3 separate regions of the Homo sapiens genome follow, and regions 1 and 2 are each linked to region 3. The links are contacts of gene promoters, found by promoter capture Hi-C in blood cells and fetal thymus (Javierre and others, 2016). All regions are on one chromosome and are shown on one strand. Each heading gives the region's core, a stretch centred on a gene start or on the middle of the fragment in contact. The rest is flanking DNA. Distances are from core to core; before and after follow the strand shown. Region 1 holds the start of IL17C (interleukin 17C). Region 2 has its middle 8.5 kb from the start of ZFPM1. Region 3 holds the start of CDH15 (cadherin 15).

What was found. The method cuts DNA at HindIII sites, captures the fragments that hold promoters and counts their contacts. A CHiCAGO score of 5 or more calls a contact.
Region 1: a contact is called between the fragment with the promoter of IL17C here and the fragment with the promoter of CDH15 in region 3, in 1 of 17 cell types (neutrophils). The highest score is 5.1, in neutrophils.
Region 2: a contact is called between a fragment that was not itself captured here and the fragment with the promoter of CDH15 in region 3, in 1 of 17 cell types (total CD4 T cells). The highest score is 7.3, in total CD4 T cells.

Annotation. Positions count from the first base shown.
Region 1 is chr16:88,636,932-88,640,233 of GRCh38, reverse strand. It overlaps IL17C (interleukin 17C), which reads right to left and starts at 1,662. Exons shown (of 3, transcript NM_013278.4): 1 at 1,587-1,662; 2 at 925-1,253; 3 at 1-420. The coding sequence starts at 1,592. The coding sequence ends at 162. It overlaps LOC124903755 (a long non-coding RNA gene), which reads right to left. Exons shown (of 2, transcript XR_007065181.1): 2 at 2,800-3,302. The HindIII fragment of the contact is 4,920 bases long and covers 1-2,940 here.
Region 2 is chr16:88,443,124-88,446,489 of GRCh38, reverse strand. No RefSeq gene overlaps it. Among named protein-coding and RNA genes, the nearest start is that of ZFPM1, 8.5 kb to the left of the region's middle. RefSeq lists an enhancer at 2,502-3,366. The HindIII fragment of the contact is 6,767 bases long and covers 1-3,366 here.
Region 3 is chr16:89,170,468-89,173,972 of GRCh38, reverse strand. CDH15 (cadherin 15) reads right to left here and starts at 2,225. Exons shown (of 14, transcript NM_004933.3): 1 at 2,100-2,225. The coding sequence starts at 2,141. RefSeq lists a silencer at 2,150-2,789. The HindIII fragment of the contact is 9,317 bases long and covers 1-3,505 here.

The DNA.
Region 1 (3,302 bases), core at 413-2,912, 530 kb after region 3:
GATGAGGAGAACAGTGGGGGGCTGTCCTCCAGACACGGGGAATGCCCAGACCCCAAGGGTAGTGTTGGGGGAGGCATATAAATAACAATAAATACACATAAATAGGGGGTGCCCTCTGGGGAGCACACGTGTCCAGTCTAGGGGCCCCACGGCCTCGGCGGTCACACTGAACGGGGCAGCACGCAGGTGCAGCCGACGGGGACGTGGATGAACTCGGTGTGGAAGGCAAAGGCCCCAGGTGTGGGGAGCCCCGAGCCGTCGCGGGAGCAGGGCCGGCGGCGCAGCACCAGCAGGCTCTGGAGCAGCCGCACGGAGTTGAGCGCAGCTGTCTCGCGGCCCGTCCGTGCATCGATACAGCCTCTGCACAGGCACTCGGCGAAGGCCAGCTTCTGTGGATAGCGGTCCTCATCCGTGTCCACACTGCGGGACGGGGTGCACAGTGAGTCTCTGGCCCTACCCTGTCCTCCTGGAGGCCCCTCTCCCCTCAGGGCCCCTCTCCGTGTACTCAGGATAGGACCTGAGGCAGCGAGGGCTGAGCCACACGGGCTTGGGGTGCAGTCGGGCTCACATGTGGTGGTAATCCACGTCTCCCCAGGGCCCTCCAAGAGCACAGAGCAGGGTCCGGAGGCCTCTAGGAGCCTCCCTTCCACTTCATCACCCAGCCCCACTTCTGCAGGAGCTCAGGTGACGGGCCCAGAATTTCCCCAGGGGACCCTGGCCACCTAGGACAGTGGGAGGCAGGGCACGGCCAGCCGCAAGCAGCAGCTCAGCCGTCCAGGTCAGGAGGGCCGGAGGGAGGGAGCTCAGGTGGCCACGCCCACTTGACAGGTGAGAACCACCAAGGCCCAGAGAGCTCTCCGGGCAGTCAGGGCCCCGCCAGGGGAGGGGCAGCCCCACGCCACAGCGGAATCCCCAGGTCCTCACCGGTATCTCCAGGGTGAGATGGAGCGCTGGTGGGTGTCTGCCTCCAACACCTCCTCCGGCCGCAGCACCGGGCACTGGGTCGTAGCTGAGGGCCTCTCGTGCCTCCCCCTGTGGCTTGCTGCCTCCAGGCTGGACACCAGGGCTACAGGCAAAGCCTGCCCCCACTTGGCACCTCGAGCCAGCAGGTGTGGGGGGGCCTGGCCGAGGGGCAGTTCCTCAGCCGAGTAGCAGTGTGGGGTACCGTGACTGTGGGGGTGCCCCCTGAGGGAGGGGTCATGGTGGGCCAGGCATGTGTGCAGCCAGGTCAGAAACAGGAGGCCGGGGAGGAGCTGGTGAAACAGGCAGGTGGGTGGTTAGGAGGTGCCCAGGGCAGGGGGCACCTCACTTCCACCTCAGCTTTCCTTGTTCCCAGCGGAAAGATGGAGTACAGCCCTCCCTCTATAGATGGGGAAACTGAAGCCCAGAGAGGCTAGCCCTTCAGCCCAAGACACCCAGCATGCCAGCGCTCCGAGGATCTGCAGCTGCCTCCCCTACCCCCAGACTGAGGGGTTTCCCAGACCCCATCCCAACACCCTCCTCCCAGGCTCAGAGAACCCCAGCCCTTCCATGCCAGGCTGCACATCCAAGCAGCATCCATCCGAGCGGCATGTGGAGAGGCTCACCGTCATGGTGGCGGCAGCGGGGCAGGCTGGGCTTGGAGCGGCCTGCACACCTGGCGGCAATCCCACAGGTGCACCTGGCCATGCACCTGGCAGCAGCCGCTCTTATACCTGAGGCCACACCTGGGGGAAATTCCGGCACCACTTCCTCCTCGGGAAGTGCCCAGCTGGGGCGCTTCTTCCTTCTCTGGTCCCCGCAGCCCCCGCCTGCTGTGCATCAGGACACAGACATGCAAGGAGGCCCCGGGAGGCGCTGTCCTGTTACCCCCCTCCCCCGAGAGAGACTCCGCCCAACCTGAGCACCTACACAGGGTGCTGCCTTGTCTGACATTCTCAAACTTTTTTTTTTTTTTTGAGACAGGGTCTTGCTGTCACCCGAGCTGGAGGGAAATGGTGCTGTCCCAGCTCACTGCAACCTCCACATCCCAGGTTCAAGCGATTCTCCTGCCTCAGGCTTCCGAGTAGCTGGGATTACAGGCACCCCCCACCATGCCTGGCTAATTTTTGTATTTTTAGTACAGACAGGGTTTTGCCATATCGGCCAGGCTGGTCTGAGGCTCCTGACCTCAAGTGATCTGCTCGCCTTGGCCTCCCAAAGTGCTGGGATTACAGGAGTGAGCCACTGCGCCCAGCCTTGAACCTCCTATAAGAGGGTTTCTGCTTGCGTATCCGTCAGCACCTTGCTGATTCAACTTGTAGGTTTTCATCTGGACCTGATGGTGGCGGGGCGCTTTTGCACCCTATACAGTTCTTCTCCGTCTGCTGCTGGTGGGTGCCAAGGGTGGTTCAGTGTTTTAGCTGAGATGGTCAAGATCAGGTGAGGCTCACGTGCCCCCTTCACCCAGGTGGGAGAGGTCCCGGAGATGGGGGAGGCAGGCACGTCTTCAGGTCTCTGTTGGGTTTCTGTGTTGTTTTTTTTTTTGTTGTTTTTTTGAGGCGGAGTCTGACTCTGTCGCCCAGGCGGGGAGTACAGTGGTGCGATCTCGGCTCACTACAAGCTCAGCTTCCTGGGTTCACGCCATTCTCCTGCCTCAGCCTGCCGGGTAGCTGGGACTACAGGCGCCCGCCACCACACCTGGCTAATTTTTTTGTATTTTTAGTAGAGACGGGGTTTCACCATGTTAGCCAGGATGGTCTCGATCTCCTGACCTCGTGATCTGCCCACCTCGGCCTCGCAAAGTGCTGGGATCACAGGCATGAGTCACTGCACCCGGCCTGGGCTTCTGTGGTTTTATTGAGAAAAAAGTTCAAGCTAAAAAGTCTGAGTTGGAGGTGTGAGGAGTGAGGTGTGAGGTGTGAATGAGGCATGAGGCGTGAGGCGTGAGGTGTGAGGTGTGACCAGCACACACAGGAAGCTTTATGTAAGCGGGGCCGGGAGCTGCCTTTGGCCTCCTTGATCGGTGAGGCTGGCTGGGGGTGGGGGCGCTGGAGGTGCCTTTGTTTCCCCGGAAAGGGACAGCTGCAGCCAGAACTTGGGAAGGTTTGAATGCCGGGGGTTTGACGTCATCCTGAGGAGGGTTGTCCTGGAGTCCCCAGGGCCCCTGGCCACATCAGAGGTGGGGGAATCTGTCCGCCCTGGTCCCCTCAGCTTCGGGGTGAGGGCGGGAGGGAGGGTGCTTGTGTGCCCCCAGCCTTTCCTCCCCTGCCGCGGTGCAGATGTGTTCCACGGAGGTGTCCTCTAAGCTGAAAACCTCAGTCTCTCTGAACACAAAAGCTCCC
Region 2 (3,366 bases), core at 389-2,888, 730 kb after region 3:
ATGAGATGAGATGGAAGGAGGCGGAGACAACACAGAGGGTGAAGAGGCCCGGGACCCCATGACCTTCACCAGGCAGGGGAGCGAGGGAGGTCCCTGAACGGCAGACTCGGCCGCCTCGAGGAGAGGACACCAGGCAGGGGAGCGAGGGAGGTCCCCGAACGGCAGACTCAGCCGCCTCGAGGAGAGGACACGCCAGTGCAGAGCCAGGCCCCAGGTGGCCGGGCTAACAGCACAGTCACTGTACGGGGCAGGGCCCGGGCTTCGGAACCGCCTGTGGCAGTGACGGACATGTGCCACCCTCCTCCCAGTTCCCGACAGGGGCATTGGTAGCATTTGTCCTACACCCCGTGCCCTGCACCCCGACGCACGGGCATACTTCACCGGAGGAATGACTCGATGGCCTCAGCCACACCTGGCCCTATCTAAATGTCAGGGCCCCGGGCCTGAGCCTGACGCTGAGACACGGTGAGACTTTTGGGGAGACTTTTGGAGGGGTGAGTGTGCCCTGCATCTGGGTGGAATACAAATAATTTGTGGCCAGAGGGCAACGGTGATGGTTTTAAAACATGGCCCCCGGATCTGTGACACACCTCCGTGCGGGCAGGGAGACCCAGGCCCCGTCTTGGATTTTGGCTCCGTGACTGCTTGGCCGGAAGGATGTGCGGGAAGCCACGCCACTTCGGCTCCCAGCCCAGCCCTCGAGAGGCCGGCGGCGTCTGGGTCTCGTCTTTCGGGACCCTCGATGTTGGAACTCAATCACCATGTTGGGTGGAAGCTCACTCGGAGACGCCAGCCCCAGCAGGTGCCTCGGGCAGCAGACGAGCTGTGCCCACCCAGCCCTGCCCAAATGGTAGATTTGTGAGCAAAAGACGCGATTGTTGTTCCGAGCCACTGAGTGCCGGGGTGGCTTTTCATGCAGCCAGAGATGACCGAGACAGAGGGTGGGAGACGGAGTCGGAGAGGGGCAGGGCCCCAGCCGCGCCAGGCCCTGGGGGGCGAGGAAGCACCGCATGACTTTGACTCCGCAAGCCTCGCCGCAGGGGCCCAGGTCAGTGTGGAAGGCGCCAGCCGCAGCGTGTGCGTCTCTCCTCACAGAGAGAGCGCCACTGCCTGGCGTGAGGCCAGCAGTTCACAAACGCCGTCTCCTTCTCACCACAGTCCCGGGAGGTCTCATGGAGCCCGTTTTACAGACAGGGGAAACTGAGCCTGCAGTGTGAAATCCAGCCGGGCGCAGGGAACCGCGGCTCCTTGCCTGGAATTGAGCTCTCAGAGGGAGCTGCTGGGAGCCAGGGCTGGAAAGGATGTTGCTGGTCACTTCGTCCATTTAACAGATGGAAGAACTGAGGCCCGGTCGGGGGTTGCTGGTGACCAGCCTGAGGCCTCTGGCCCCCAGCTCAGTGCTCTGCTGCTCCTGGGTACCTCCTGGTGCTGGCAGAACACATCTGCCCTCTCCTTGGGCCCAGAAGCAGGCCTGGGGTTCTCTCGGGCAGTGCAGGCCAAGGGGCAGTGTGTTCACCTCCCTGCCATGCCCCGGGCCTTGGGGAGGACCAGCTCTGCCTCCTCTCCTCACAGCCACGCGGCTGGTCAGTGAGACAGACACTGCATTGGGGAAAGGGGCCGTGGGCTTGGGACCCAGGCCAGGGCAGGCCTGGAAAGACAGACACCCCTGGGCCTCAGCGTGGCTGTCCTGGGGCTGCGATCCACCCAGAATTGGGAACTGCCTCCCGCTGCTTCCCAGCTGGAACCTGGCGTGACCTGCTTGTTGTCCTTGCGCTGGGAGGGGGAGACACTGGGGCTGGAGCCCCCAACTTCAGCTGCATCTCTGTGGCCCATACGTGGCACGTGGACAGAGGACACGGGCAGGACTGAGCTCCCCATGGGCTCCAGGGCCTCCAAGTCCCATCACCTCTGGGGTGTTTCAAGGAATCCCCACATTAGCCGCCCCAAAGTCACTGGGACACAGCCCCTTCCCCGGGGCCGGCCCTCTCCATCCCCCTCTCCCCACTGCGTGAACCTGGCCATCCACACATCTTCTCAGGAGAGCAGATGCTTCAAGGTGTAGGAGCGTGTAGGAGAGCCTGCTTTCAATAATGAGTTTCCCAGTAAACCGTCCCGGTAAACTGTTCCCTGAGGAGGGTAGGAGGGTGTGCCCCCATCCCGCGGAACCCCTGACCCTGCCCTGCATACCTCCTCTCTGTGCGGTGGGGTGTGGGGATGAAGCCAGGCCTGCCACTCACCACTGGCACCCTCCTACCCTCCCTCTGCTTCCTCGCCCCACAGGCTGAGACCCAAGGGCACCTGGCATGTGCTCCCCTGCCTGCGTCTCCTCCACGGCTGCCTGCCCCCTCTGTCTCCTCAGCCTGGCCCAGGGCACCCACTTCTCTCCTACCCCACTTCCCCAGCGGCCTTGGAATCTAGACGTGGATGATGGGAAATAACGCCGCTGTCTATGGGAGCTCTCTGCATACTCATAGCCTCCCTGCCTCCCCCTGCTGCTTCAGGGCAGCCCATTGGGGGTTCTGGCCACAGAGGGACTCTGCAGTCTTGGGGCAAACTGGGCCTCAGAATCCTGGGTGGGAGAGACAGAGTCCCCAGGTTGGGAGAGTTGGTGTGGACGGTGACCCTGACTGTGCCCAGGGGGAGGGTTGGTGTAGACGGTGACCCTGACTGTGCCCAGGGGGAGGGTTGGTGTAGACGGTGACCCTGACTGTGCCCAGGGGGATGGTTGGTGTGGACGGTGACCCTGACTGTGCCCAGGGGGAGGGTTGGTGTGGACGGTGACCCTGACTGTGCCCAGGGGGAGGGCTGGTGTGGACAGTGACCCTGGCTGTGCACAGGGCCGGGCCTCAGTGTCCACTCCCTCTGCAGGGGTCCCCACAGGGCCTGCACAGCTCACGCCCAGTGCTCCTCTGCTCCCAGCTCAAACACCTGTCCTTCAGGGAACCCTGCAGGGACTCCGCAGCACTCTCTCCTGTGGCTGTGTGAGCGACTGGCAGGCACCTGAGTGCACCCCGGGGGCCGAGTAGGCGTGTGTGCGTGCGTGCGTGCATGCGTGTGTGCCTGTGGGCATGCGTCTGAATGCCCAGGTGTCCGCAGGGGTGAGGCTGTGCTGTGTGCACGTGTGCAGTCGAGGGATTCCCGCCTGTCTGTCCCCTTTAGTGTGTGGAGGTGCCGGGTGTGCACGTGGGTGGTTTGCAGGTCAAGTGGGTGTGGGGTCGGCAGGTGCGGTGCCTCTGGAGGCTGCAGGCGGCCGCCCTGCCCAGGTGGAGGCTGGACCCCCTGGCTGGGCGAATGCTGCCACCTGGTGGCCAGGCGGGGGCCGTCCACATCCTGGGTCTCCAGCCAAACGGTGGTTTCAGGCCCCAC
Region 3 (3,505 bases), core at 976-3,475:
CTCCCAAAACCCAGATGCAGAAGTGGGGACCTTCCCAGCAGGCTGGGGTTCTCTGTGAGTCAAGTGTGCTGCCCCAGACCTCAGCCGCCTCCCAGCTGGGGTGGGGTCCCAGGTGTAGAACCAGCAACTAGGGATGGTGTAGGTGCAGCAGGGCTGAGAGGGGCCAGTTCTGAAGACACCCTCCGGGTGGGGCTGAGTGAGCTCAGCAATCAGAGGTGGCCCGAGCAGGGGAGCAACCCCTCACTTGTAGAAGGCCCTGATGGGCCCACGCTGCCTGCCTGGGGGCTCACCAGGAGGCGGCCCAGGACCCCAAGGCTGCCCAGGAGAGCTCACAGTCCTGAAAGCTGAGCTGCTGGGGGAGGGGCAGGCAGGGTCCTGACACTGACATATTTTGCCTCACAGTGGAGTGAATTTGAGCCTTGGCGATAGTCCCCTTGCCATCTGGCCCCCACCTCCACCACCTCCCCCAGCCTCCAGCTGTCGGGGGAGGGGGTTATTGTCCCCCAGCCCTGGGCGAGAAAAGAAGGGACAGTGAGAGGGAAGGCTTCTGAGGAGGGAGAGGTCCTGCCTGCCTCCCCACCTGCCACAGAGCCCCCTGGGGCCTTTTGAAAGGCAGACACTCCCAAATCCAAAGGAAGAGGTCTGGAGGAATGTTTTCACAGGCGCCAGCCTCCCCACCACCATGCCCTGGGTTGGGGTGCCAGGGAAGAAACCCTGTCCCCAGAGCAGGTGGGGAAGGGCCCTGGAGGCATGGAGCCCCCCAGCCTGCGCTCCCCGGCAGAGGGCTGAGGGGTGGAGGGCCGGGGGGTGAGCACGCATGCTGAGCCACTGTCTCCCCCCACCACTGTCTCCAGATGGGGGAGTCGGGGGTGGCAGGAGCCGTGGTGCCCTCAGGGGCAGCTGCTGGAGGGTCTGGCTGGCCAGGCGCCTGGTCAGCTGCCAGGGGCTGAAATTGGAGCCAGCTGGAGCTGGGAGGCCTGTGGGAATGAGGGGACTCAGGAAGCCCCTTCAGTGGGGGCTGGGAAAGGAGTGGCTTCCCTTACTCACTGTGTCCAGCACTCCCTGACCACCCCAGGACCACAAGAGCAATGAATACTGTGAGCACCGCTAAGCCCTTTATGTGCATTCTCTCTCGAATTGGCCAGAGAGAGGCTGCCCTCTTGTACCCAGTGACGTCCCAACCACAGCCGGCCATGCCCCAGCCCAGCCCAGTCCCTGGGGGCTGAAGCCACTGAGGCCACATCCTCCATGTCTAGGTCCCCCTAGGGTGTGAGGAGACGTGGCTCCAGCTAGGCAGTACCCATGTCGGGTGTGGGGGGCTGAGGCCTGGGCTTCCTTCCACTCTGGCTTGCTCCCACGTTGGAGAGACCACGGTGCCAGCAGTCCAGACAAGATTTTTAGGGGCAGAGTCCAGCAGCCTCTGGGGGCTGGGCCCCCAGGCCTGATCACCCCAGGCAGCTGCGGCAGGGTCCCAGGTGAAGCCCAGGAACAGAGCCCCCAGGGCTGCCACACGCCACTCTGCAAGGCCGTGTGTTGCGACCTGGCTCGGGCTGGGCCCTCCCAATCGAGAAGTAGCCGTGAGGGTGAGTTCCTGGGGGCAGGGCCTGCAGCCACCCCTGCTGGCCAGGAACTTGGGGTGGGGGGTTTGGACAAAACCCAAGACTAGCCAGGGGTCCTGTGCCCACCGCAGGGAGTCCCTATAGAAACCTGGCCCCCAGCCCCCCAGAGAGGGGCACTCCTGCCGCTCCCCCCTCTCTCTGCTCCACTCAAGACTGGCAACCCCCAGACCCCGGCAGCGGTTCCTCCAAAGAGAGGGCACGGCTACCTGGGTGGCCCCTGCCTGGGGTCCCTGACCCCAGCAGCACTCTGCAGTCCTGGGGGTGATTCCACCAGATGGAGTGTTTGGTTACACTCACTCCCCACAACCCCTGGGGTGCTGCCCCCAGCCCAGGGACCCACCCGGAGCCACTCCGCTCACAGGCCCCCAAAGGCGACCAGGGCCAGTGGTTCTGGGGGAGACCTGTGCGGCTGCAGTTGAAGACACTGTCCCGCAGCGTCGAGGGAGGCAGCGGGGACCCCCGCAGGTGCCGATGCCTTACCTGGGCCAACAGCCCGAGGACGAGGAGGAACGCGGCGTCCATCGGGGCCGAGGCGGGAGCCGGGCCGGAGTGCACCCGCGACCCGAAGAAGCGCGTCCAGGCTGAGTGACAGCGCAAGTGCGCGGGGCGGGCCAGGGCCAGAGACAGAGACAGCACGTGTGAGGGGGGCGGGGAGGGGGCGGGGCAAGGGCTGAGTGACAGCACGAAGGAGGCCTCTGACGGGCCGAGGGCCGGCCTGGGCAGGGCTAAGGCTGAGTGACAGCGTGTTGGCAGGCGGGTGGGGCGGAGCCTCTGGCGAGCTAGGGCGGGGCGCAGGCTGAGTGATAGCCCGTGTGCGAGTGGGGCAGGCGGGGCGGGGCCGGGGCCGAGGGCTGAGTGACAGCGCAGGTGCGCCGGCGGGGCGGTGACCGCACGAGGCTGGTGGGGCGGAGCCAGAGGAGGATGGGGCGGGCGGGGCGGGGCCGAGGGCTGAGTGACACCTTGTGAGAGTGCGGGGTGGGGCCGGGGTGGGGCCGGGGCGGGGCCGAGGGCTGAGTGATAGCTTTTGCGGGGTTCCGGCGGGCAGGGCCAGGGCTAGGTCGGAGATACCCCGGCTTGCTGCGTTGGGAGCAGAGCCAGAGGCCAGGCTGTGGGGAAGGCAGGGTGGGTGCGTCCGGGTCAGGGACCAGCTGGGATTCCTGGCTTCTTCATTTCCTGCTCCTTGGGCCCGGCTCGCCCCTGCTCCAGGGAATCTGCATTGTAGTCCCTGCCGGGGGACACCTCTTGAGCACTTCCTTGGGCCCCTCGCCTCTCTGGCTGCGTCTCCTGCGCCTCCCCGCATCCCACTGAACGCTAGGCCCGCCTTCCACGCACCTCCTCGCGACCTCATTTTGCCCAGCTCTTATTCAGTATGGAACTGCTCTGGTTCACACGCCTCTGATACCAGCGTGGCTCGTAGGACACCCCCAATTCCCCCAGTCCACGCACCTCCTCCAGCATCCCCTTGTTCCCCGAGGCCCCCTGCCTGGAGCACCTTCCTTCCTACAGAACTCCTTCTCATCATCCCTCAACACCCAAGGTCAACGCTGCCGCCTCCTGGAGCCTCCTTGCCACCTCGGCCAGAAGCCCTCCCTCCTGTTGACTGTGGCACCTGTTCTCCCCTTCGAGACCCCGCCCCCTGGGATGGTGTGGGTGTGGCTCAACACCTGCACAGGCCCAGCGCACGGTCAGGAAGGTCCTGGAGAGGGGGTGGAGGGGGCTGGAGGCAGGAGGATCCTTTCTTTTGAGCAGGCAGGGTGGGGAGTGGGGGTTGCCGACCAGCCCAGGGCCGGGCCGGGGAGCCCGTTCCTCTCTGTGATGGGAGCAGACCCGGTACCTCTGCTCTCCTGTCGACGGCGGGTGGCTGTGCAGGTGCAGGCAGCATCTGT